Regions from separate parts of the Homo sapiens genome. Here region 1 is linked to region 2. The links are contacts of gene promoters, found by promoter capture Hi-C in blood cells and fetal thymus (Javierre and others, 2016). All regions are on one chromosome and are shown on one strand. The core of a region is centred on a gene start or on the middle of the fragment in contact, and the rest is flanking DNA. Distances in the headings are between cores, read along the strand shown. Region 1 overlaps UBR3 (ubiquitin protein ligase E3 component n-recognin 3). Region 2 holds the start of MYO3B-AS1 (MYO3B antisense RNA 1).

Region 1 (6,146 bases), core at 772-3,271, 410 kb after region 2:
TGAGCTCACACAAAAGTGGAATTCTCCAGTTACCAGAAAAAAAGAAGGAATTAATGACAAGCACTAACACTGTGCCAGTGGTTTTAAAGTCCTTGAGCAAACAGATCACAAGGTATGTTGGGCTCACACAAGGCTCAGAGATAGAACTGATATCCCATCTAAAGCTGAGACCCTTGACAGGCTTTACCCTCACTGAAAGAGTAACTCACAAGGAGAATGAATTAGCTTGTCTGTCTCTTCTGGGATGTAAGAACAAGTTCCCCAAGAAGATAATTATGAACTTGTATGCAAATACAGTAGTCCCCTCTTATCTTCAGGGAACACGTTCCAAAGCCCCCAGTAGATGCCTGAAAATATGGATAATAACAAACTCTCTACATACTATGTTTTCCTACACATACATACCTATGATAAAGGTTAATTTATAAATTAGACACAGTAAGAGATTAACAACAGTAAGTGATAATAGATTACAGCAATATACTGTAATAAAAGTTAGGTGAATGTGTACATGCTTTCTCTCTCAAAATACCTTATGTATAGTAGTCCCCCTTATACCTAGTTTCACTTTCCACAGTTTCAGTTACCCATGGTCAACCATGGTCAGAAAATATTAAATGAAAATCTCCAGAAATAATTCACAGGTTTTCAATTGGATGCCATTCGGAGTATTGTTATAATTGTTTTATTTTATCTTTAGTTATTACTGTTAATCTCTCACTATCTCTAATTTATAAATTAAGCTTTATCATAGGTATGTATTGTAGGAGAAAAACATAGTATATATAGGGTTTGGATACCATCCCTCATTTCAGGCATCCACTGTGGGTCTTGGAACATGTCCTGAGGATAAGAGGGGGACCATTGTACTATACTCACTCCTGTTATTCTTGGGATGATATGAGATGATAAAATGCCTATGTGATGAGATGAAGTGAAGTGAATGATGGTAAGCACTGTGACATGGTATCGGGCTACTAATGACCTTCTAACAACATGTCATCAGAAGGAGGAATATCTGCTTCAGGTGATCCTGAATCATCAGGCCATGACAATGTGATGGCTGGATGTCAGGAGCAGACAATGTCAATAACTAACAAGTGAGTAGTATATACAGCATGGTACACTGGACTAAGGAACAATCCATATTCCAGGTGGGACAGAGCAGGATGGCACAAGAATTCATCATCCTGCTTATAATGGCATATAATTTAAAATCTATAAATTACTTATTTCTGGAATTTTCCATTTAATATTTTCGGACAGCCATTGGCTACAGGTAACTGAAAGTACAGAAAACTAAACCACAGATAAGAGGGGACAACTGTAATAGCAGCCTCATAATACAAAAGGCAAATTTTGAGGGAATTACACAGAGAAAACGACAAATCTACAACCATAGTAAAGGATATTAACATACTTATCTAAATGAGAGCCAGAAAAACATTGGTAAACAGTTTTAAGATTTTTAACAACACAATTAAGAAGCATGGGCAAAGGCAACATGCAACAAGTAGTGAATACACATAATTTTAACAGCGCTTAGAATATTTATAAAAATTGACTATGTAGAATGCAAAGTAAATCTCAAAAATATCAAAAAAACAGATACATGAACCACATTCACTTGTCACATAGCAAATAAAACTAGAAACCAACTTAAAAATATAACTCAAAACTCCAGACATGCAGACATTTTAAGGCGCTATGCTCTTAGAAATTCAGAAGCCATTAAAAATCATAACAGAAAAATTTAAAGCCTAAACTATATAGAAAAAGTTGTGGGCCACAACTAAAGTAGTACTTAGAAGGAAATACATAGCCTTAAAATCCATACATTTGTTAAAAAATCAACAACTAAGCATCCAAATTATAGTTAATAATAATGTATTTTATATTTCAAAATAGCTAGAAGAACTGTAATGTTCCCAACATAAAAAGAAGATAAATGTTTGAGGTGATGAATATCCCAATTTCCCTGATTTGATCATTACACATTGTATACATGTATGAAACTATCAGAGAAGTATCTTCAAATACTGTGTAAAAGGTAATGTTAAGGCTAAGATATATCAATTAAAAATATTTTTAAAATCTATAACAATAAAAATTAAAAGGGAGTAATTAAAAATGAAAACCAAATGCACTGAAACAACAGCAATGACCAAGTATCCAAGAAAAGGAAAAAAGACAATCCAAACTAAATTGAAAGAAGATAATAATGGCCTGGCATAGTGGCTCACACCTGTAATCTCAGCACTTTGGGAGGCCAAGGCAAGCAGATCACTTTGAGCTCAGTAGTTCAAGACCAGCCTGGGCAACATGATGAAACCCTGTCTTTACAAAAAATACAAAAATTAGCCAAGCATGGTGATGCACCCCTGTAATCCCAGCTACTCAGGAGGCTGAGGTGGGAAGATCGCTTGAGCCCAGGAGTTAAAGGCTACAGTGAGCCAAGATTGCACCACTACACACCAGCCTGGAAGACAGAGTGAGACTGTCTCAAAAAAGGAAAAAAAAAGGCCTGGCACGATGGCTCACACCTGTAATCCCAGCACTTTGGGAGACTGAGGTGGGCGGATCACGAGGTCAGGAGATCGAGACCATCCTGGCTAACATGGTGAAGGCCTGTCTCTACTAAAAAAAAAAAAAATACAAAAAATTAGCCGGGCGTGGTGGCAGGCGCCTGTAGTCCCAGCTACTCAGGAGGCTGAGGCAGGAGAATGGCATGAACCTGGGAGATGGAGCTTGCAGTGAGCAGAGATCCTGCCACTGCACTCCAGCCTGGGCAACAGGGCGAGACTCCATCTCAAAAAAAAAAAAAAGTTAATAAGTAATAGAGGAAAAAAGAATAAGAATGAAATAGAAAATGGGGGTGGGAGGAGAGAGACAATCAAAACTTGGTTCTTAGAAAACATAGTAAAACTGATAATCATCTCATATGACACCTAATTCAAAATAAGAAATAGCAAACACAAATAAATAATAGGAATAAAAACACAAGGAAGATTTTTTTAATCATTAAATATAAACGTAAAATAAAGATTTCTTAGAAAAATATAACTTAGTAATTTTTTTCAAGAAATAACCTAAGCAAGCCTAAAACCTTTAAAGAAAGTGAATGTGTAGTTTTAAGTTATCCACAAAAAAAGATGTATGAGGCCCAGGTTGTTGAACAGGCAAGGTCTATTAAAACTCAAAGGAACACCACATGAATAAGAATTAAGTTGGACCACTACCTCACAGCATACATAAAAACTAACTCAAAATCGACCAGAGAATTTGATGTAAAAGCTTCAGCTTTAGTTTTATATTTTTAGGCATAAAACTCTTGGGGAAAAACATAGGTTTAGGTATCTGTGACCTTGATTTAGGCAACAGAAGGAAAATTAAATTAATTTAGGCAACAAACAGGAAAATTAAAGAAAAAAATTGGAATTCATCAAAATTTAAAACATTTGTGACCCAAAGAACACTTTCAAGTAAGTGAAAAAGACAATCCACAGAATGACAGAAAACATTTACAGACCGGGCACAATGGCTCATGCCTGTTATCCTAACACTTTGGGAGGCTGAGGCAGGCAGATCACTTAAGCTGCAGAGATCAAACCAGCCTGGGCAACACATGTAGAGACCCCATCTCTACAAAAAATTCAAAAATTAGCCATGTGTGATGGCGTATGTCTGTAGTCCCAGCTACTCGGGAAGCCAATCAGGACCACATGAGCCTGGGAAGGCCCAAGGCTGCAGAGAACTGTGATCATGCCACCAGCCTGGGCAACAGAGTGACAGTGTCTCAAAAAAAAAAAAAAAGGAGAAAGAAAATATTTGCAAATCATATAACTGATAAGTCTAGTATTCAGAATATATGAAGAGGTCTTAAAACTCAATAATAAAAAGTGCAATTAAAAAATGAGCAACAAAATTGGCAGCACCTGATACCTTTATAAATGGAGGTGGGAAGGCAAGGGGCTAAAATAAGGAGGATCGGATGAAAACTGCCTTTCCACCACTGAAACAGAATTTTGGCTACAGAACTCATCTCTGGGGAGGATCAAATAGCAAGTACAATTGAGGATATGAGGATGAGAGATTAAAATCATCATATAAGTATTTGACTCAGAGTCCCTAGGCCTTGTCTCTCAATCCGTTTACAGAATAATAGCACCAATACCATTTCCTTCTGGGCAATATCTGAGGATACTTCCCTGAGGAATCTGACCAGGCCAAAAAGAAAGATCTAACACAAGTGCTTCTCAACCAACCTGCCTACCCAAATCACCCTATATTAAAATTCAGAATCTACTAGTTCCACCAATGCACTCAAGAACTCTTAATAACAAGCAGTCAACATTGTCAGACATCTGGGGAATGCCTCTAACTTGAAAGCTAGAGACTGAACAATAGAAAATGCATCTTAGATGGATTAAAGACTTAAATGTCAGACCTAAAACCATAAAAACCCTAGAGGAAAACCTGGGCAATACCATTCCGGACACAGGCATGGGCAAGAACTTCATGTCTAAAACACCAAAAGCAATGGCAACAAAAGCCAAAATTGACAAATGGGATCTAATCAAACTAAAGAGTTTCTGCACTGCAAAAGAAACTACCATCAGAGTGAACAGGCAACTTACAGAATGGGAGAAAATTTTTGCAATCTACTCATCTGACAAAGGGCTAATATCCAGAATCTACAAAGAACTTAAACAAATTTACAAGGAAAAATCAAACAACCCCATCAAAAAGTGGGCGAAGGATACGAACAGACACTTCTCAAAAGAAGACATTTATGCAGCCAACAGACATATGAAAAAATGCTCATCATCACTGGCCATCAGAGAAATGCAAATCAAAACCACAATTAGATACCATCTCACACCAGTTAGAATGGCGATCATTAAAAAGTCAGGAAACAACAGGTGCTGGAGAGGATGTGGAGAAGTAGGAACACTTTTACACTAACTAGTTCAACCATTGTGGAAGTCAGTGTGGTGATTCCTCAAGGATCTAGAACTAGAAATACCATTTGACCCAGCCATCCTATTACTGGGTATATACCCAAAGGGTTATAAATCATGCTGCTATAAAGACACATGCACATGTATGTTTATTGCAGCACCATTCACAATAGCAAAGACTTGGAACCAACCCAAATGTCCAACAATGATAGACTGGATTAAGAAAATGTGGCACATATACACCGTGGAATCCTATGCAGCCATAAAAAAGGATGAGTTCATGTCCTTTGTACGGACATGGATGAAGCTGGAAACCATCATTCTGACCAAACTGTCGCAAGGACAGAAAACCAAACACCGCATGTTCTCACTCATAGGTGGGAATTGAACAATGAAAACACTTGGACACAGGAAGGGGAACATCACACACCGGGCCCTGTTGTGGGGTGGGGGGAGTGGGGAGGGATAGCATTAGGAGATATACCTAATGTAAATGACGAGTTAATGGGTGCAGCACACCAATGTGGCACATGTATACATATGTAAGAAACCTGCACATTGTGCACATGTACCCTAGAACTTAAAGTATAATAATAATAATAATAATAAAAAGAAAACGCATCTTAGAGGAAACAAATACTACATAGAATGAAGAAAAAAAATCTTCAAAATAAGAAAACTATCATTAATATATCAGAGAAATATGCTGTACCTATGATTATGAAGATGCTATAAAATTAACTTTGCATTTAAAAAAATTGGTTTCTGGGCCAGGCACGGTGGTTCACGCCTGTAATCCCAGCACTTTGGGAGGCCAAGGTGGGCGGATCACCTGAGGTCGGGAGTTCGAGACCAGACTGACCAACATGGAGAAACCCCATCTCTACTGAAAATACAAAATTAGCCGGGCATGGTAGCGCATGCCTGTAATCCCAGCTACTAGGGAGGCTGAGGCGGATGTATCGCTTGAATCCGGGAGGCAGAGGTTGCGGTGAGCCGAGATCATGCCATTGTACTCCAGCCTGGGCAACAAAAGTGAAACTCCATCTCAAAAAAATAAAAATAAATAAAAAATAAATAAATTGGTTTGTATATAATACTACAGTGACAACATATAAATGTAATTTTCAAAATGATCCCAATAGTCATGATGAAATATTTCAACTATTCTATTTCATTTAGCAT
Region 2 (6,410 bases), core at 2,499-4,998:
ACCCTTGCAAAGTAAAGCACAGACGTTGCAGGCAACCAACACATGTTCCCAAGAGGTTGGGAAAGAAGGGGGAGGGGGAGACAGTTTGGAATACTTTTGACTCCTATTGTTAGGGAACTAACTCTATGCATGGGTTTCTGAATGGTTATCTTTCTGTTTTCCTTTCTAATTTTCTCCATTCTGTTTCCCCAGGGGACCTGCTGTTTCCCCGCCCTGGTATTATGGTGTGTCCTGAGCTTGAAGCCACTGTTAATTCACTGACATGCATAGATAGGTGATACAGAATGACTGTCACAAAATATACTCATAGCAGCAAATCAGTGACATCAAAGGATCTTTTAGGACCACTTACCCACCCATCTCTGCTCTAGACAGGCCACTGTGCTCTGGGGAAAGAAAAACAAAACAGAACAAAAAAAAGGAACCAGAACTGATGACAAGGAGAAAGGGAAGAGAAGAGAAAAGAAGAGAGGGAGTAACACTAGCTCAGGCACTTCTTGGATCTCTTCCAATTCAACAGGCAATGCCTAGCATTAAACAGGGTTGTCTGATTCTTTCTGCGGGATCCTATTACTGGAAGTAGACAACTGTACATACTATGTTGCCAAGGACAGGTAACAGGTTAGATGGATCACGAATTTCATACTAGTATGCATTAATAATAAATCATAGACATATTACCCTTCCTGCTAGTTATATCAGATAATGCGATGAATGATTGAATGTGTGACACAGTGGTCAATTATCATGTGGATGATATAAATTCTATTGTGCTGAGGACATTTATCTCTTTATTGATCTGGCTTTGCTAGCAAGGATCATAAATTACTAGCCTTCCATAACCATATGATGAATACTCTAATAAGAGAATGCCACCAAGTCCTGTTTTCATAATAAATTCCCTTATGATTTCAGTTAGAAAAGTAGCATGCAGAGAATTTGTTTTATTTTATTAAAGACTTTATTTTTACAACAGTTTTAAGTTCACAGCAAAATTGAGAGAAAGGTACAGAGATTTCCCATATACCCCGGCCCCCCTACACGCACAGCCTCTCCACTGTCAACATCCCCCACCTGTACATTTGTTACAATTGAGGAACTCATACTGACACATCGTAATTACCCAGAGTCCATGGTTTACATTAAAGTTCACTCTCAGTGTTGTACATTCTATAGGTTTGGGCAAATTTATAATGACATGTAATCCATTCGTAGAGTATTATACAGAGTATTTTCACTGCCCGAAAAATCCTGTGGGTTCCACCTGTTCTTCCCCTCCCTCCCTGCCCACAACTCCTGACAACTACTGATCTCCATACTGTCTCCATGGTTTTGCCTTTTCCAGAATGTCACGTAATTGGAATCCTACAGTATATAGACTCTTCAGATTGGTTTCTTTCACATGGTAACATGAATTTAAGATTCCTCCATGTCTTTTCATGGCTTGATAGCTGATTTCTTTTTAGCAGTGAATAATGTTCCATTGTCTGGATATACCAGAGTTTACTCATCCATTCACCTACTGAAGGACATCTTGGTGATTTCCAAGTTTTGGCACTTGTAAATAAAACTGTGATAAACATTCATGTGCAGATTTTTATGTGTATATAAGTTTTCAATTCCTTTAGGTAAATATTAAAAAGGGCGATTGCTAGACCCTACGGTAAGCATATGTTTACTTTTGTAAGAAATTAGCAAACTGTCTTCCAAAGTGGCTATACCATTTGCATTCCCACCAAAAATGAAGGAGAGTTCCTTTTGCTCCACATCCTTGGCAGCATTTGGTATTGTCAGTGTTCCAGATTTTGGTCATTCCAATAGGTATGTAGTGGTATCTCATTGTTGAATCTTTTTATTTTATTGTCAAAAGTTATATGCAGTAGGAAGACTATGAGGAAATCCTGTCTATCCCAAACGAGTAAACAATAGTATCCTAGAACCAGCATGCATAAGCTTACTAGACATTACTGTTAACATTTTCAGGAATTCTGTGAGCTGGTTGATATCAGATTGATAGCTTGAAATTGGCTATGGTGGGAATATTTACACCATGAAAACGAGTAAACACTGAAAATCAGCCCCACTCCCACCCCTATCCGCAACCAGCCAGTTTAAACATTTACCAGTACACCACTGCTTATGTACTGGAAATCTTGGGAAAAACTGACTGCCTGATAATTCAAAAGCATGGTCATATAGATAGAAATCTCTTTTTACCAACCTTTTCCTCCAATGCTTTTTTTCCTCATTTCCTGTCTTCTGTTAGATTGATTAAATTTTCTGTAGACCCTTTCTTCTTTTGGTTTAGAAACTAGACATTGTTTTTCTATAGTTTTAACATATTTGCTTAACTACAAATTAGTTTAACATGTTTGCTTAACTGTCAATTTTCCTGTAGTTCTATCCCCTTTCTGAGTACAAAAACCTATGCGTGCCTAGGCCGGGCACGGTGGCTCACACCTGTAATCTCAGCATTTTGGGAGACCAAGGAGGGCGGGTCACCTGAGGTCAGGAGTTCGAGACCAGTCTGGCCAACACGGTGAAACCCCGTCTCTACTAAAAATACAAAAATCAGCCAGGTGTTGTGGCATGCACCTGCAACCCCAGCTACTCAGGAGGCTGAGGCAAGAGGATCGCTTGAACCTGGGAGGCGGAGGTTGCAGTGAGCCGAGATCATGCCACTGCACTCTAGCCTGGGCGACGGAGCGAGACTCCATCTCAAAAACAACAACAAAAAACCAAACAAAGAAAAACAACTTGTGCATGCCTAAATCACACACTGGATGCTGTCCCTGCCCCAACTGTATGATTAGAGTTAGTTTTTACGTATTTTATCCCAAATTGTTTTCCTTCTTACAGTTAGTAGTTATCTACATTAATCCTTCAGACTATTCCATGAATTTAGTTTCATTTCAAACGAATTTATGCTTCATTTGTTGTTTTGGTGGGTTGTCTTCCTCAGCTTTAGGTTTATTCAGGTGTTCTGAAATTTCAGTTGGCAGGCTCACTGAAAGGGTGAGGAGGAAGAGGATTTTGTTTTCTCTCTCCCTCTCACTTCCCCTTTGCCCACCCTCCTATTCTAGTAATGTTATGGTTATGTCTGCTTGGCTCTCTGGGTCTCTAGCCCAGAGCCAGGTTGTAGAATGGCATTTTGTGCTGCTGTCCCATGGTCTTATTGGGCATATGGAAGAGCCTATGACTGTGGCAGCCACAGGCCTGGCTGCTTATATATCCTTCTACCATCCTCAGCCAGAAGGTGGCTAAAAGTCATAGTCCTGGGTGATGGTCAGCATCACCCCAGACGATGGAGAATATGTGGAAGAAATTGCTACAGTTAGAGCACAGGATCACATAACCTCTCCCCTACCCCATTCTTTTTCCCAGACGCTTTTTATCAGCCTAAATGAACCACCTCATTTACTGGCTTCAAGTAGGAGTCTCAACTCTGAATCCTATCTTGTTTGGAGCCCTGTTAGTCTTTTTACTCACAGGAGTCACCACTGCTCTTGATACCTGCGGACCTGTGACTTCAGCCCAGCTGAGCACTTCATGAGCATTCCATTCTCATCCATCACAATGAACATTCTGAATATAACTAACTTCCTTCCTTCCTGCCTTCCTCCCTCCCTGCCTTCCCTTCCTTCCTGCCTTCCTTCTTCCTTCCTCCCTTTTTTCTTTTCTCCCTTCCTTCCTTCTTAATATGTTTTTGGCCTTTTCTTTATATATGTGGCCTAGCAATATCCTGTGTTTGGAAAAGTATAAACCTAAGGCATCACCTTTACAGAAAATATCTTCCACGGAAACATCTAAAGGCAAAAATCCTTCAAATTCAAATTTATCCAATCATTTCTTCTGCTTACTACCATCCTAAATCATTTTTCTTTAGTAAGATCTATTAGTGTGAAGCTATTAAGCTATTAATGTATGTATCATATTAATGTATTAAGACATTAAGGTACGTGGCCAAAATTAACATCTGTGAGACGTGCCCCTAATCTTTTTTCCCCCTGCCAACACCTTGATTTTAACCTAATTTTATTTTACAGTGAGGAAGTAAAGTTGCATTCACAGGCCTTGAACTTTTCCACATCTCGATTTTTACCCATCATCTCTGCATAGTTCCCTAAGGCAGCCTTCAAATGGTGATGTTTCTTATAATCCAGAGTTCAGAAGTGGCTTCTCTTCAATCTTTCTGTGGAATTCTAAACCACGTGATAAAGGAGCTGGTGGTGAGAAATAAGGGAAGGCAGAGATGAAAAGGAATGGGCAGAAGCTTTTGGAGAGGAATAACCACTGAGATTGCCATGAAGGATTCATTCTGACATTCTTTTCATGTATTTAAGGCAATCAAAAAAGAATCCACAGCTAACCACGTAGCTATCAATTTAACAATCCTATCATGTTTCTTCTTACAGTTAAAATTTCGGTTTTTGGGAGGTCGAGGCGGGCAGATCACTTGAGCCCACAAGTTGGAGATCAGCCTGGGCAACATGGCAAAACCCAGTCTCTACTAAACATACAGAAAATTAGCTGGGTGTGCACGTGCCTGTAATCCCAGCTACTTGGGAGGCTGAGGGAAGAGGATTGCTTCACCCTGGGAGGTTGAGATTGCAATGAGCCGAGATCGCGCCACTGCAATCCAGCCTGGGCAACAGAGCAAGACACTATCTCAAAGGAAAAAAAAATGTTCAGTTGTGTTCTGGGATACTGTGTGTATATTGAGAGAGGAAGGTGTATCTGACCACTTTTGCCACCCCTTATTCTCTTCCTTATCATTATGTTTGTCGTTTGGAGAGACTGTCCAAAGATCATGAGTTCTAACATCCAACTTCTATCTAGGTCCATTATATGAGGTGCATAATTTTTTTCTTTCTTTCTTTTTTTTTTTTTTTTGAGACAGGGTCTCATTCCATCGCTCAGGCTGGAGTGCAGTGGTGCAATCTCAGCTCACTGCAACATCCACCTCCCAGATTCCAGTGATCTCCTGCCTCAGCCTCCCAAGTAGCTGGGATTACAGGTGCCCACTACCATGCCCGGCTAATTTTTGCATTTTTAGTAAAGACAGGGTTTCACCATGTTGGCCAGGCTGGTCTCAAACTCCTGACCTCAAGTGATCCACCCACCTCGGCCTCCCAAAGTGCTGAGATTATAGGCATGAGCCACCACACCCGGCCATGAGGTGCATAATTTTAAGAGTATCACTTCCTCTAAAGAATTCGTGGTTCTTCAAAAGGAATGGATATTTACTGAGTTCCTGCCATGTTCTAGGAACTGTGCTAGGTATTGGGGATATGAAGCAGTAAAGATACATTCTCTGCTCTCAAGGAATTTACAGTTTGAGTGGGGAGACAGACGTAGAAACAAATAATTCCAGGATGGCTTGACATGCTCCCTCTCTCCCCATTATTATAAAGTTCTGTAAAAGGCACAACGCTGACATAAAAGCATGAAGGAAGGGGCCTCTGAGTCCTCCTGGGGAAGTCAGGGGAAGCATCACTTGTTCAATTTTTCTAGAATGTGCAGGGAGTTTGGAGGAGAGAATGGTATTACATAGAAAGGGGCAGATCCTTCATGACCTTGTGTGTTACAGAGTTTTAGTGCACCCTGTAAGCACTGGGAAGACACAGAATAATTATGAGTAGGGCATGACTTGATCAGTTTAGGGATTCAGAAAGATCACACTGACTGTTTTGTGCAGGATAATTTGTGATGAGATCCAGGGAGAGTATTATGAAAGCTGCTGCTCTAGTTGGAGCAGAGATCTGAATCATCACCCAGAAACACTTGGCCCCTATAAGATGGAATGTTCTGGGTAGCCAGAAAAAGCCAGATAACAAAACTACTACCCCAAATTAGAAGTGGATTAGGGAAAGCACATATACTAAGCTATAGCCAGCTCTCCTACATCTAGAGCCTGTGGGCGCTTTGGCCTCATGCATCAGGAGGGCAGAAGACCATGTCCAAACACTCCATATCCAGGGAGAGGGAGAGCACCTGATATTTTAGCAGTGTGGTCATCCATGTCACCATGTGGAGAATGACATGGGGAAATGGAGGAGGTGTCTGAGTAGCCAGACTTGGGTTTTCTTCATATATCCAGGTGAAAAAGGTACATAGGATGTTGATATTCTGCCTCAAAATATACACAGTATGGGCTGGGCATGGTGGCTGTCACCTGTAATCCCAGCGCTTTGGGAGGCCGAGGTAGGAGGATCACCTGAGGTCAGCAGTTCGAGACCAGCCTGGCCAACATGATGAAATCTCATCTCTACTAAAAATACAAAAAATAGCCAGGCATAGTAGCAGACACCTGTAATCCCAGCTACTCTGGAGGCTGAGGCAGGAGAATTGCTTGAACCCGCGAGGCAGAGGTTGCAGTGAGCCGAGATTGTGCCACTGTACTCCAGCCT

The links. Contacts are between HindIII fragments. The CHiCAGO score rates a contact against its expected background, and 5 or more counts as called.
Region 1: a contact is called between a fragment that was not itself captured here and the fragment with the promoter of MYO3B-AS1 in region 2, in 2 of 17 cell types (megakaryocytes and endothelial precursors). The highest score is 7.0, in megakaryocytes.

The regions. Positions count from the first base shown.
Region 1 is chr2:169,935,942-169,942,087 of GRCh38, reverse strand. The region is part of intron 19 of UBR3 (ubiquitin protein ligase E3 component n-recognin 3); the gene reads right to left. Among named protein-coding and RNA genes, the nearest start is that of UBR3, 110 kb to the right of the region's middle. The HindIII fragment of the contact is 2,551 bases long and covers 746-3,296 here.
Region 2 is chr2:170,348,281-170,354,690 of GRCh38, reverse strand. It overlaps MYO3B-AS1 (MYO3B antisense RNA 1), which reads left to right and starts at 3,748. Exons shown (of 4, transcript NR_110576.1): 1 at 3,748-3,812. All of the region lies in intron 8 of MYO3B (myosin IIIB), which reads right to left. RefSeq lists an enhancer at 1-602. The HindIII fragment of the contact is 2,320 bases long and covers 1,956-4,275 here.